Linked DNA regions of Homo sapiens: region 2 is linked to region 1. The links are contacts of gene promoters, found by promoter capture Hi-C in human tissues and cell types (Jung and others, 2019). All regions are on one chromosome and are shown on one strand. Each heading gives the region's core, a stretch centred on a gene start or on the middle of the fragment in contact. The rest is flanking DNA. Distances are from core to core; before and after follow the strand shown.

The links. The method cuts DNA at HindIII sites, captures the fragments that hold promoters and counts their contacts. A contact is called where the count stands out against the background at its distance.
Region 2: a fragment that was not itself captured here is called in contact with the fragment with the promoter of TMEM42 in region 1 in 4 of the 25 tissues and cell types used here (heart right atrium, mesenchymal stem cells, psoas muscle and 1 more).

Annotation. Positions count from the first base shown.
Region 1 is chr3:44,857,580-44,865,099 of GRCh38, reverse strand. TMEM42 (transmembrane protein 42) reads right to left here and starts at 3,188. Exons shown (of 3, transcript NM_144638.3): 1 at 2,984-3,188; 2 at 757-903; 3 at 1-60. The coding sequence starts at 3,175. It overlaps MIR564 (microRNA 564), which reads right to left and starts at 3,212; the gene lies at 3,119-3,212. It also overlaps a transcript of KIF15 not described here. RefSeq lists silencers at 2,679-2,728, 3,059-3,108 and an enhancer at 3,139-3,728. The HindIII fragment of the contact is 28,079 bases long and covers 1-7,520 here.
Region 2 is chr3:44,809,756-44,817,275 of GRCh38, reverse strand. It overlaps KIF15 (kinesin family member 15), which reads right to left. Exons shown (of 35, transcript NM_020242.3): 17 at 6,233-6,430; 18 at 4,987-5,094; 19 at 4,096-4,201; 20 at 2,200-2,365. Among named protein-coding and RNA genes, the nearest start is that of MIR564, 48 kb to the left of the region's middle. The HindIII fragment of the contact is 4,882 bases long and covers 1,432-6,313 here.

The sequences.
Region 1 (7,520 bases), core at 1,939-4,438:
CACTCCTCCCCACCACAAGACCTCCTGGCACTCTCCATACAGCACATAGCCCAGGAAGGCCTGCGAGACAAAGATAGCTGTGAGGGACTCAACTTCAGCAGGTGGGCACAACCTCACTCTCCTGGGACTGACTTCCTTCTAAGGGTGCCAGGAGGAAAGGTCTGGAGCCAGAAGCCTTGGGCTTGAAACCTAGCTGTCACCTTCATCAAGTCACTCTATTCAATCTCCCCTGCATGAGTGGAGAGGCTACCTCCCTCACTGCACTGGACCTCAGCAAAGTACACAAGAAAGACCCAGCAGATGCCAGCAGGTAGACACAGCAGGTACATGGTATTTGTTTCTCCCTCAACTCAAGATTGACTACGCTCAGCTCCATCTTGTCAACCTCAGACTACACAGGGCAGAAAAGTTTCTGGGAATCCCAACCCTCTAAATGCCATGGAGCCTTGAGTACACAGAACCCTAGGAAACAGCTAGGATGCACAGTGACTTCAGAATGAGGGCTCCACCCTGGAGGAACAGCAAGCAAGTAGGCTTTTTACTGTCAGGCTTCACTCATATCTAACTTAAGAATTCTTCCATGATTAGAATTACATTTGCTCCATGAATAGAGCACTCATCCAGGGGTCAAGCCACAGCCCAACCTCTGCTTCAGTTCCTGTCCTTTCTCCTGTCTGGGAAAGGAGGGGTTATCCAAAGACAACTCACCCAGAACCCAGATTTAGGACAAGAGCACCACACCCTCAGGCTACTCACCGAGCTGAGGATATTTGAAAAAGTCACTGTGACAGATGCAATGGCTGAAGACATGGAGAAACTGAGGCCCCGGCTAAAGAAGGTCCACATCAGAGAATTGGTGCTCGCCATCACAATAATGCCTAAGACGCATAAACCCATGCTCACCTGCAGGAGAAAGTGTCACTGCAGCCACGTCCACCCTGGGCAGCAACCTGCAGACCCCCTCAAAGCACACCCAGGACTGTGGTTGCTGGCACCCAGGCTCCTACTGAGCTCCCACTACAGCTCAGAGGGCCTCAGAGCTTTCCTGCACAGGGCTTCACTTAACCCTCAGTGGGCAGCAGACCCATCTTACAAATAAAGCAAATTCAGAGAAGATACTCATTTGGCCACCTTGCTGGCCATATGATCTTGGGAAGAAGCAAAATGCTAATCCAAAGCCAGTATTTTCTACTGAACACCGGCCCCTTATTGGTCCCACAATGACCAGTGCTTGAAGATCAGTCCCAGAGGGCCAAGTAGTTCTTACTCCGTAGGTAGTAAGCCTAGGGTAGAGTTCTTATTTCTTGAGATCAGGCAAAGCATGAATTAGCAATGTCTGCTCTGTATTCCCACCCCCAAATCCTATACAAGTTACAGCCCACTAAGGCTGACCCCCTCTGGGTATTCTTGAGCTTTTACTCTGTGTTAGGTCCTGGGCTGTGTTTAAGCATTCTCATTTATTCCTTAACTTCATTTTACAGATAAAGAGCCAGGGGCATTAAGTAACCTTCCTAAAGTGCTACAGCGGTGAGAGCCACCAGGCTTCACAAGCAGGCAGTGTACCTCCATGCTCTTAACTAGGGCACAGCCTTGCCTGAGGGAAACACCACCTCAGACTATTTAGTGATCCCAGACATCCCTTGGAGAACTTGCAGGTATTTTCTTTCTTTTTTTTTAAAGGAGAAAGTCTCAAGAGAAGAGAAGATCTTTAGAAGCCTCCTACACAAAGGATATGCAGTCCCCCTTGCTTGGTGGTGAGTTAGAAACCTGCCTGGAGACAAGGCGGCGGGGGGGGGGGGTGCGGAATCTAAATATACTTATTACTTGTAATGGTTTCTCAGCAGCTGAACACATAGTGTCTTGAGAAAAAGGTGCTTGCTTATAACTTACACCAGGGTGTTCAATTTTTTGGCTTCCCTGGGCCACACTGGAAGAACTGTCTTGGGTCACACATATAATACACTAACACTAATGATATATGATGAGCTAAAAAAAAAATAATAAATCGCAAAAAAATTCATGTTTTAAATTTGCAAATTTGCGTTGGGCCGCGAGTTGGACAACCTTGTCTTACACAAAGCAGCATATGGGCCAGTGGCAACCTGCTTAAAGGGTTATGAAGGTCTAGTTCCTGACAACAAACTTCACGGCCCATACAAAGTTATTCATTTTACTTTCGACCACTTACCCCATGAACTACACCCAATGGGATACTAACCTGAAGCATGGCAGCTACTACTGGATTAGCCCTAAATAGGCTTAACCCTAAATAATCAGTGACCACTGTCCAGGTCAGAGGCTAACCTTGGGCTGCAGACGCAATGAAACCCCTATAGCAAGCAGAGGCTGGTCTACGACGTGGGAGGGAGAGGCAGAGATACACCTTAGCAGACGCCAGGATGCAAGTTTAGGAGTTCTCAGCGTCAGGAAAACATCCAGAACGTCTCTGTCAGTATCCTCTTATGCCTACAGTATCCCAAACTCCCAATTTTCCTGGTAGTGGGGCAGACTGGTCATCTGGTCACAACACCCGTTAATTACGGAGTAAAGGGATGGGCAAGAGGCTTCTCACCTTAAGAGTCACGTGGAGAGAAATGCTCAGGCACAAGGGACTTAAAATGAGAGGTAGAGGGTGGATGTAGGAGGTGTAGTTCTTCCCCGAGAGCGAACTAGCCCAACCGGAGAAAAGGTTTTAGGTCCCTGGTAAGGGAAGAGGCCTCAGTCCCCGACGTCTCTTACCACCTACACTGGACGAGGGTTTGGCGTGATTAGAGGCGAAACACTCTCTGCCACCCCAGCTGACCGCAGCGCCGCCCGCGGCCCGGGGCCCCGGCGGGACAGACCGGCGAGGGTGCGGCGGCGCCCTGCGCCCACCCCCGCCCCACCCCAAGAGCCCCGCGGGCCCCGCAGCGCCCCTCCTCCGCCCAGCGGCGCCCCGCCCGCCCGCCCGCAGCAGCAGCACCAACAGCGCCCCGGGCTCGACCTCGCTGCCGAAGGCCAGCTTGGCGGAGGCGGCGGCCAGGGCCCCGAACGCGCCGGCGCACAGACAGTTGAATACGCCCCAAAAGCGGCGCCGCATCGCACCCGCCTGGAGGTGCGGAGGGAATTCCGCGGGGGTGTCAGGGTACGCGGTCGCGGACACGGCGCCGCCCGGAGGCCCCGGCCTCTCGGCCATGTTGCCTGCTGACACCGTGCCTGGCACCCGCTGCCCGCAGGGCAGAGCGCGCGCCGCGATTGGATGGCAGCCTCACGTGACGCGACGCTCCTGTGACGCCACGCTCCGGCAGGCCCCTTGGGAATCGCTCTCCGGCGCCTCGGAGGGGGCGGGCCAGGTGGCAGAGACCCTGGGCTGTGGCGGCCTCCGGCCTAACCTGTAGTAGGTTTGTGCTCTGGGGAGGACGTCGGGACCCGAGGCCTGAGGCCAAGCCGGGTACTGTGGACGCTGTGGTAGAAGGTAAACTTCTCGCGGCTTAGCCGTCTCCATCCCGGCCACCCGGCTCCCGGTGAAACTTATTAAAGATGCCTAACGGGCCCCGCGCCGGCCCACCGAGTCCATCCACGTCGACCAGGCTTCTCCGCTCCACCCTCCAGCCTGAGGACCGCCGGACCAAGAGATGCCTCGGCAGAGGGCGCTGGGGACCTCCAGACCCAGAAAGACGCCAGAGCCCCATATGGGGACAAGCGCATCACAGAAAACCGAAAAAATGAGGATCTGCGATGAGAGGAAGACAATGATCCATAATCAAGCCACGCAGAATCAACATGACTTCTAATCTCCTGTTATACTTACGTATGTTTAGAATGTTTCCGGCTGGGCGTGGTGGCTCATGCCTGTAATCCCAGCACTTTGGGAGGCCGAGGCGGGTGGATCACCTGAGGTCGGGAGTTCGAGACCAGCCTGACCAACATAGAGAAACCCCGTCTCTACTAAAAATACAAAATTAGCCGGGCGTGGTGGTGCATGCCTGTAATCCCAGCTACTCGGGAGGCCGAGGCAGGAGAAGCGCTTGAACCTGGGAGGTGAAGGTTGTGGTGAGCTGAGATCATGCCATTGCACTCCAGCCTGGCCAACAAGAGTGAACTCCGTCTCAAAAAATAAAAATAAAAATAAAATGTTCCCATTTAAAAAGTACACGTCCTTGAAAATAAAGTGTTGAAATGTATAAAGTGCTATTTCCACTCTCCAGGAAAATCAGTGTTAATAGAGCATTTTTCTATATGTCTATTTAGTTATATATAGTTAAAATGTTAAAAAAATTATAGAATATGTATATGCATTTTTTAAACAAAAATGATTTCACAGTTGAACATACTGTTTAGCAGCATTCTTTTTGTATCTTCTGTTTAGCAAGTTTTTATGGAAGTCCTTCCACACCATGCTGCTTCTCTCACAGGGTGGTTTTGTGGCTCAAATAAAAGCACGGATAAGGCCAGGCACGGTGGCTCACGCCTGTAATCCCAGCACTTTGGGAGGCCAAAGGTGGGTGGATTACGAGGTCAGGAGTTCAAGACCAGATTGGTCAAGATGGTGAAACTCCATCTCTACTAAAAATACAAAAAAAATTAGCTGGGTGTGGTGGCGGGCACCTGTATTCCCAGCTACTTGGGAAGCTGAGGCAGAGAATTGTTTGAACCCAGGAGGCAGAGGTTGCAGTGAGCCGAAATTGCACCACTGCCCTCCAGCCTGGGTGACAGAGTAAGGCTCTGTCTCAAAAAAAAACACGGATAATTTCAGTAACGCCAATATGGTACAAACTGTCCCATTTTGCAGATGAGGAAATTGAGGCTCAGAGGTCTCACTGCACCACTCCATTGAGTAAGGAGCTGCTCAAAGATGATACCCTCTGAAAGCTCTTATCAGGAAATCAAGAGGTGTTGCATTGATCAACTCTGCATGCTTTAAAGAATGTAAAGCAAATTTTCTTAGAACAAACGATGCCTCTACTAGCACTAAAGGTTAAGCATCTCAGAGCCACCTCCTCTGTAAAGCCGTCTCTGCTACTCCCCTACCTTTGTACCAGTCCTGTGGTTGTTCCTCTGGTTGTCTGTTTCTCTGCTAGCCTGCAAGCTCCTTGAGGGCAGGGACTACATCGTTGTTAATCTCCAGGTCCCCAGCCCTGGTGATGATGGCTGAAGTGATGCCATCCTCAGACACTGCTGGGAAGTGATTTCTGCCTCTAAGAAACTCCTGTGTACACACATCACCTAGGGATCTTGCTAAGATGAAGATTCTCATTAGGTCTAGAGCTAGACTGAATTTTGTTTGTTTTTAGAGGGAGACAGAGTCTCTCTGTCACCCAGGCTAGAGTGCAATGGTGTAATCATGGCTCACTTCAGCCTTGAGCTCCCAGGCTGAAGCCATCCTCTCAGCTCAGCCTCCTGAGTAACTAAGACTACAGGCAGGTACCATCAAGCCCAGATTATATATATATGTATTTTTTGAGACAGGGTCCTGCTCTGTCTGCCAGGCTGGAGTACAGTGGTGGATCATAGCTCACTGCAGCCTCAACCTGCTGGGCTCAAGTGATTCTCCCACTTCAGCTTCCTGAGTAGCAGGGACTATGGGTGCATCATGCCTGGCTAATTTTTGTATTTTTTGTATAGACAGGATTTTGACATGTGGCCCAGGCTGGTCTTGAACCCCTGGGCCCAAGTGATCCACCCACCTTGGCCTCCCAAAGTGCTGGGATTACGGACATGAGCCACCGCACCCAAGCCGCCAGCTCCAAAAATTAGATTCCAGCCCTCAAAACCCACAACAGGACCTAATTAACCTCGCCTTCAAGGTGTACAATAATAGAGTAAAGGCAGCCAAGTAGCAATGTTTTTCTGAGTTGCAATTAGTTGCCTCCACTGTGAGAGAAACCCCAGCCACATCTCCAGCACACAAGAACTTCAAAACGTCTGAACCGCAGTGGCCAGGCTTTCCTCCAGGACCGCCTCCCACAGGAGCTTGCTTAAAGTGCCATAAATCTGGCCACTGGGCCAAGAAATGCCCACAGCCCTGGGATTCCTCCTAAGCCGTGTCCCAACTGTGCGGGACCCCACTGGAAATCAGACTGTCCAGCTTGCCCTGCAGCCACTCCCAGAGCCCCTGGAACTCTGGCCCGGGGCTCTCTGACTGACTCCTTCCCATATCTTCTCAGCTTAGCAGCTGAAGACTGATGCTGCCCGATCGCCTTGGAGGCCCCCTGGACCGTCACGGACACCGAGCTTCGGGTAACTTTTACAGTGGAGGATAAGTCCATCCCCTTCTTAATCAATACAGAGGCTACCAACTCCACATTATCTTCTTTTCAAGGGCCTGTTTCCCTTGCCTCCATAACTGTTGTGGGTATTGACGGCTAGGCTTCTAAACCTCTTAAAACTCCCCAACTCTGGTGCCAACTTGGACAACGTTCTTTAATGCACTCCTTTTTAGTTATCCCCACTTGCCCAGTTCCCTTATTAGGCTGAAATATTTAACCAAATTATCTGCTTCCCTGATTATTCCTGGACTACAGCCACATCTCATTGCCACCCTTCTTCCCAACCGAAAGCCTCCTTTGTGTCTTCCTCTCGTATCCCCCCCACCTTAACCCACAAGTATGGGACACCTCCACTCCCTCCCTGGCAACCCATCACACGCGCATTACTATCCCATTAAAACCTAATCACCCTTACCCTGCTCAATGCCAGTATCCCATCCCACAACAGGCTTTAAGGGGATTAAAGCCTGTTATCACTCGCCTGCTACAGCATGGGCTTCTAAAACCTATAAACTCTCCTTACAATTCTCCCATTTTACCTATTCAAAAACCGGACAAGTCTTACAGGTTAGTTCAGGATCTGCGCCTTATCAACCAAATTATTTTGCCTATCCACCCTGTAGTGCCCAACCTGTACACTCTTTAGTCCTCAATACCTTCCTCCACAACTCACTATTCCATTCTTGATCTTAAAGATGCTTTTTTCACTATTCCCCTACACCCCTCGTCCCAGCCTCTGCTTTTACCTGGACTGACCCTGACACCCATCAGTCCCAGCAGCTTACCTGGGCTGTACTGCCGCAAGGCTTCAGGGACAGCACTCATTACTTCAGCCAAGCTCTTTCTCTTGATTTACTTTCTTTCCACCCTTCTGCTTCTCACCTTATTCAATATATTGATGACCTTCTACTTTGTAGCCCCTCCTTTGAATCTTCTCAACAGGACACCCTCCTGCTCCTTCAACATTTATTCTCCAAGGGATATTGGGTATCCCCCTCCAAAGCTCAATTTCTTCTCCATCCGTTACCTACCTCGGCATAATTCTTCATAAAAACATACGTGCTCTCTCTGCCGATCATGTCTGACTGATCTCTCAAACCCCAACCCCTTCTACAAAACAACAACTCCTTTCCTTCCTGGACATGGTTGGATACTTTCGACTTTGGATACCTGGTTTTGCCATCCTAACAAAACCGTTAAATAAACTCACAAAAGGAAATCTAGCCGACCCTATAGATCCTAAATCTTTTCCCCACTCCTCTTTCCGTTCCT
Region 2 (7,520 bases), core at 2,623-5,122, 49 kb after region 1:
ACAAAAGACAAAATAGACAAATGGGATCTAATTAAACTAAAGAGCCTCTGCACAGCAAAAGAAATGACCATCAGAGTGAACAGGCAACCTACAGAATGGGAGAAAATTTTTGCAATCTACCCATCTGACAAAGGGCTAATATCCAGAATCTACAAAGAACTTAAACAAATTTACAAGAAAAAAACAAACAACCTCATCAAAAAGTGGGCAAAGGATATGAACAGACACTTCTCAAAAAAAAAACATTTATGCAGCCAAGAGACACATGAAAAAAATGCTCATCATCACTGGTCATCAGATAAATGCAAATCAAAACCACAATGAGACACCATCTCACACCAGTTAGAATGGCAATCATTAAAGTCAGGGAACAAAAGATGCTGGAGAGGATGTGGAGAAATAGGAACACTTTTACGCTGTTGGTGAGAGCGTAAATTAGTTAAACCATTGTGGAAGACAGTGTGGCAATCCCTCAAGGATCTAGAACTAGAAATACCATTTGAGCCACCGATCCCATTACTGGGTATATACCCAAAGGATTATAAATCATGCTACTATAAAGACACATGCACACATATGTTTATTGTGGCACTATTCACAATAGCAAAGACTTGGAACCAACCCAAATGTCCATCAATGATAGACTAGATTAAGAAAATGTGGCACATATACACATGGAATACTATGCAGCCATAAAAAAGGATGAGTTCATGTCCTTTGCAGGGACATGGATGAAGCTGGAAACCATCATTCTCAGCAAACTATCACAAGGACAGAACACCAAACACCTCATGTTCTCACTCATAGGTGGGAACTGAACAATGAGAACACGTGGACACAGGGCGGGGAACATCACACTGGGGCCTGTCAAGGGGTGGGGGGCTGGGGGAGGAATAGCATTAGGAGGAATACCTAATGTAAATGATGAGTTAATGGGTACAGCAAAGCAACATGGCACATGTATACCTATGTAACAAACCTGCACGTTGTGCACATGTACCCTAGAAATTAAAGTAAAATTTAAAAAAATTTTAAAAAAAGGAGAAGCAGCAGCAGCAGATAAATATGGGATTTTGCCTAAAACTCAAGCTATTCAACATTCAGTGAGATAGAGATATGGCAAGGAAAGGTTACAAATGTCATCACTTTCTCTTTTATGAAACTATTGTCAGTATTTCATTAGTAATAATTATGCATTTTTTTCATTTTACAAATAGAAATGAATCTTTAAAAAAAAAAGAAAAATGTATGTATAGGTGGCTCTGGCCTGCAGATCTCAAGTTTTCTTCCTCTCTTTCAATTTCTGGTTGTATATCCAAAAAACACTCAACAGCTACAGATTTTAATCTTTGTAACATCTACAAAAATTAAACTCAAGGCTGCCTACTAGTAGCTTTTCCAGAGCAAACAGTTACATTCACATCACATTCACAGTGTAACATTCATGTCCATTATTAAATTATGGCTTATAGACACAGGAGACATTATCAAAAAGTGTTATGTTATACAAAAGGTTGAAATTAGCAAGAAGAAAAAAAGAAACAGTAAATAACAAAGAATAAACTATTTAGATGTGAGATTACATTTGTTTCAAGATATCAGCACTTGACTAATCAGCCAGCCTTTGTAGAGTTAGTGTGCACAGCAGTGAAGACTATTGTTTTGGTTTACCTTATACTGACTGTCCTTTCTTCTAGTAAGAGCACACCTTTCCCTCCAGAGCAGGCACATTACTCTATGTCAGGCCAGTGCCATCTCAAACCTGGTAAAGTGACTGGTCCAAAGGTGAGCAGATGACTCAAGCAAAACCAATTCAGATTTTCTCTGGGATAATACATGGCTATTGGGAGAGAGAATTTCTTTACAGGGGTTTTTATCCTGGGAACCAAAATATGGAGCTGTGTGAGGCAATCTGTTCCTTGTCACATAGAAGAAGGACCTCAGTAATAGGAGGGAATAAGAGCAACACATAGAACTGAGCATAGCTGAGAGAGATAGAACACTGACAATATTGCTTGAGACTCAGACTAGTTTGTTCCTGAAACCAAAATCACCTCTGGGGCTTCCAATATTGGAGCCAATAAATTATCTTTTTTATTTGTCTAACTGCTTTGAGTTGAGTTTATAACACTTCCAACTTCAAACAGTCGTAGGTTACAGCCAATCAGGCAACTTGAAACCATAAAAGAACAACTCTACCTGAGATTATCTAATTGAAGCTGTACATGCATGTGTCTTTCGGAAAGTTTGTTGAATTCTTTCTCCTGATTCGTTTTGAATGAACTATATTCCAATTTCACTGAAGAAAGCTCCTTGTCAGCAGAATGAAGGACTACTCGCAGGTCATGTACCTCACTTTTCAAAACTAAAAAACAAAGAAAACATATCCTCAGTAGGTTTCTTAAAGCAGACAAATAAATCTGATAGGTACTAGTCCCACAATTAGCAAAATCAAGTCGAAGAGACTATTTTAAGGAAAAATGTTAAAGAATTAAGTGGCGGGTACCTAGCAGCACTGAGATTTCTATTTTCTTCCTCTCCCTTGCACATGGTTTTTCGTAAATTTCTACTGAAATAGAAAGCATTAACATCTGTCCCTGACTTACAGGTCACTTGACTTTGCTAGATTTCTCCTGTAAAATGTGCTTCAAAACTCCTAATATAAGGGCAGACACAGTGGCTTATGCCTATAATCCCAGTACTTTGTGAGGCTGAGGCAGGCGAAATGCTTGAGGTCAGGAGTTCGAGACCAGACTGAGCAACATGGCAAAACCCTGTCTCTACCAAAAATACAAAAAATTAGCTGGCTGTGGTGGTGAGCACCTGTGGTCCCATCTACTCAGGAGGCTGAGGTGGGAGGATCGCTTGAGCCTGGGAGTTGGAGGTTACAGTGAGCCGAGATTGCACCCACTGCACTCCAGCCTGGGTGACAAAGTGAGACTCTGTCTCAAAACAAACAAACAAACAAAACTCTTAATATAAGAAAAAAAAATTAAAAGATGTAACATATTTTGAGTGAGCTCATCTTAGTTATTGAAAATCCCTTGGAAATTTGCCTAAACTTTCCAACATGGGTTAACTACTTCAGGTCTTCTAAGACAACTACAACTGCAAATAGTATTAGTTAACTTTTTAGTTCAAAGAAAATAGAATGGCTATCTCTTTTTGTTTTAGCTTTATTACAAACCACTGCAAATACTTTAATGAAGGGAAAAATAAAGTGAAAAAATTGGGAATCAAATGATATTCCCACATCTACAAACATATACAAATATATAACCTACGCTTTGTTAATATTAAAACATTCATGAATTCAAGACACTTCATTTTCAAAGCAGCTTATCTAAAACTTTAAGCAGGCTGGGCACAGTGGCTCACGCCTGTAATCCCAGCACTTTGGGAGGCCGAGGTGGGTGGATCACCTGAGGTCAGGAGTTCATGACCAGCCTGGCCAACATGGCGAAACCGTGTCTCTCCTAAAATTAGCCGGGCTTGGTGGTGCACGCCTATAATCCCAGCTACTTGGGAGGAGACAGGAGAACTGCTTGAACCCAGGAGCTGGAGGTTGCAGTGAGCCGCCGAGATCCCGCCACTGCGCTCCAGCCTGGGTGACAAAGCAAGACTCCACCTCAAAAAAAAAAAAAACAAAACAAACAAAACAAAAAAAAAATGACCAAAGAAAAAAAAAATTAGCCAGGCATGGTAATGCACTCCTGTAATCCCAGCTACTACTCAGGAGGCTGAGGTGGGGAATCGCTTGAACTCGGGAGGTGGAGGTTGCAGTGAGCCAAGATCATGCCACTGGACTCCTGCCTGGGTGACAAAGCGAGAGTCTGTGTCAAAAACAAACAAACAACAAAAAACTTTAAGCAAACATTTGTATCATTTGTTTGTGGGCAATGATAGAGAAATTTACCTTTTATGATATATTACTGTTACTTACCACTGCATGCAAACTGCAGTCTGGTTATCAAACAAACAACAACAACAAAGCAACCATCCAAAAACATAGGAACAGCATTTATTAATAAAAGTAAAAAGATATTGAGTTACAGTATTCCTTCAAGTCACAAAGCTCCTGATAGAATAACTTACAGTCATTTTTAGTTTGAGTCTCTTGAAGCTGCTTTTCAAGGACATTCAACTGTGAGAGAAGCTCTTCCTGCTGTTTGGTCCAATCAATTCTTTCTGATGAGAAAAGCTTTGGGAAAAAAGATAAATTTACTGGAAAAGGAATACTGGCATGCTAAGATGCACTCCAAATCATTAACCTGTTTCTTTTTTTTTTTTTGAGACAGAGTCTTGCTCTGTCACCCAGGCTGGAGTGCAGTGATGCGACCTCGGCTCACTTCAACCTCCGCCTCCTGGGTTCAAGTGATTCTCCTGCCTCAGCCTCCTGAGTAGCTGTGACTACAGACCCACGCCACCACGTCCAGCTAAGTTTTGTATTTTTAGTAGAGACGGGGTTTCGCCACCTTGGCCAGGCTGGTCTTGATCTCTTGACCTCAGACGATCCACCTGCCTTGGCTTCCCAAAGTGCTGGGATTACAGGTGTTAGCCACTGTGCCTGGCCCCATTAACCTGTCCCTGTTTTTAAAGTCTAGCTTTAACGTCTCTGACCAGAAGAAAATTGGCTGTCCCCATGAACTACAGTAAAGATGATTAACAACTATGAAGCCATGGACAGTCCATCTTGGTTTCTTCTAAACACATAGCAAGGGATCCATTTGCATTATTGACTAAGTCAGCCAGGTTTAGACTATGCATGCCTGTCTCATTATCAGAGCAGCATGCTAAGTAACAAGGTAGAGAATACAGCTCAAATAAGCCTTCACTAAGGCCATGTGACAACATTTTCTTTCTGTGATACTCTCTGAATATGTTTCATGCATACTCAAGGATGTTTGAGGATCCTTGAGGATGTTTCCTCAAGGTAACATTTGAGGGTACTTCATACATTTTCTGAGGCTGTGCTCTTGGTCTCACCTCCTGCATTTGGGTAGAATGATGTTCCAGTTTGTCAACATGCTGCTGAAGCTTTAGGTTTTTATGCTCTTCTTCATCCAGTTTGGCTTGAAGAGCACTCATTTGTTCCTGCAACACAAAAACTTCAGTCATCAAAATTTATTTTAATGGAATTCTCAAACATTCCACCATTTCGTCTGCATTAAAGAGACAACAAAACAAAACAAAACAAATTCAAAACCTCATATGAACAAAGGTATCAAAGGCCTGTTTGGAGCCAGAAAACATCATCAAAAGGTTATATACTAAATGATTGCTAATGTTTCAGATTTACACTTGTGGTCCATTAAAGTAGACACTTTGAAATACAAAGGAAAGAAGTGATTAAAATTAAAATCCTGGATTACATGACAGAGCCATCTTGAGACTTCTAAGAAGCTTCCTCAGGGCTGCAAGCGGTTACCTCCATGGCCTGGAAAGGACAAAATACTGGGGTTTGGGGTGGTCTGGCCCACTCCAACTTTTACTGGACAGTAGAAAACCTTTTTAAAAAATTAACAAACCATAAAAATTCTGGAATAATCAAATTTCACATTATTTCAAATATATTAAAAACTGTCTAAAATTTGATCTATAATAAGATTCTTTTAACTTTCTTTTTTTTTGAGACAGAGTTTCACTCTTGTTGCCCAGGCTAGAGTGCAGTGGCGCGATCTCGGCTCACTGCAACCTCCGCCTCCCGGGTTCAAGCAATTCTCCTGCCTCAGCCTCCCGAGTAGCTGGGATTACAGGCATGTACCACCACACCCGGCTAATTTTGTCTATTTAGTAGAGACGGGGTTTCACCATGTTGGTCAGGCTAGTCTCAAACTCTTGATCTCACGTGATATGCCTGCCTCAGCCTCCCAAAGTGCTGGGATTACAGGCGTGAGCCACCGCACCCGGCCTCTTTTAACTTTTTTTAGCAGATACAGCACTTTGCTATATAAACCAGTTCTGGAACTTGGAGCTAGTGGCCAACTGGTCATTTTATACACTAAGGAACAAAAACCCATGGAGAATGACTTGCTAAAGATTGTAAAGTAGAGACAAAAAGCAAGAGTGGGCTGATTTCCAATCTAGGAATGATTATAAACCCACACTTAAAAAGATATGATTTTAATACTAAGCACTTTTGAACACTGTAACTTATAGGGAATTAAAATAACAAAGCAAATGTATTTAAATGGATGTCCAGTTATTTATTTTTTCTAGAACAAAACATTACCTGCACTGTTCTAAGCTCTTCAGAAATGGCCTCAAAAGCTTGTTCATTCATCTCAGGAGGAACTGGCTCATTTAATATATCATTATCTAATATGCTAGAATTCTGAGTGTATAGAGAGCCAAAGCTTCCCATTTCAGGGCTTAATTTTGGTACTGGTCGGGAATGAAGTTGGTAGGCCTTGGTTGGTGTAGTTATAATCTGCAGCAAAAAATGATTATGGAAAACATTAGCACATATTTAAAAAGGGCATATTTAATAATTTTGTGAATAGAGAGGATAAAATTGAAATACTATTCATGAAAAGAAAGGAAAAAGTACCCTTGAGACACAGTACAAAAATGCCCAAGTGGAAATAAATTTATCAATTCAATGCAGTCCCAAGCAAAATTCTAATACAATTTTTAAAAATAAACTTAATGAGCTGATATCTATTTTCATACAAAGAATAAATGTACAAGAAGAGACAAGACAATTAAAAAGAACAAGCCAGGCATGGTGGTTCATGGCTATAATCCCAACACCGTGGGAGGCTGAGAAGGGGAGGATCACTTGAGGCCAGGAGTCCAAGACCAGGCTGGGCAACATAGTGAGATCCTGTCTCTACCAAAAAAAAAAATCATTTTAATTAGCTGGGCATGGTGTCCCAGGCCTGTAGTCCCAGCTACTTGGGAAGCTGAGGCAGGAGGATCCCCAGAGCCCAGGTGTTCTAGGTTGCAGTGAGCTATTATCACACCATTGCACTCCAGCCTGAGTGACAGACTGAGACCCTGTCTCTCAAAAAAATAAAAATAAAAAGAACAAATTAGGAAGACTTCCCCATCTGATATAAAAATACATAGGGGTATGGGAGTATGGTCATTAAAATAGTACATTACATTACAGTACATTATATTAAAACAGTACATTAGCTTATGTACATTCAAATAGAACACTGGGAGGAAATACAAAGTCCAGAAATAGAATTATTATTATTTTTTGAGACACAGTCTTGTTCTGTTGCCCAGGCTGGAGTGCAGTGGTGTAATCTTGGCTCACCACAACCTCTGCCTCCCAGGTTCAAGCAATTCTCCTGCCTCAGCCTCCCAAGTAGCTGGGACTACAGGCACACACCACCATGCCTGGTTAATTTTTGTAGTTTTAGTAGAGATGGGGTTTCACCATGTTGGCCAGGCTGGTCTCCAACTCCTGGCCTCAAGTGATCTGCCCGCTTTGGCCTCCCAAAGTGCTAGAATTACAGGCGTGAGACACCACACCCCGCCCAGAAATAGAATAATCTTTCTGTGGAAAT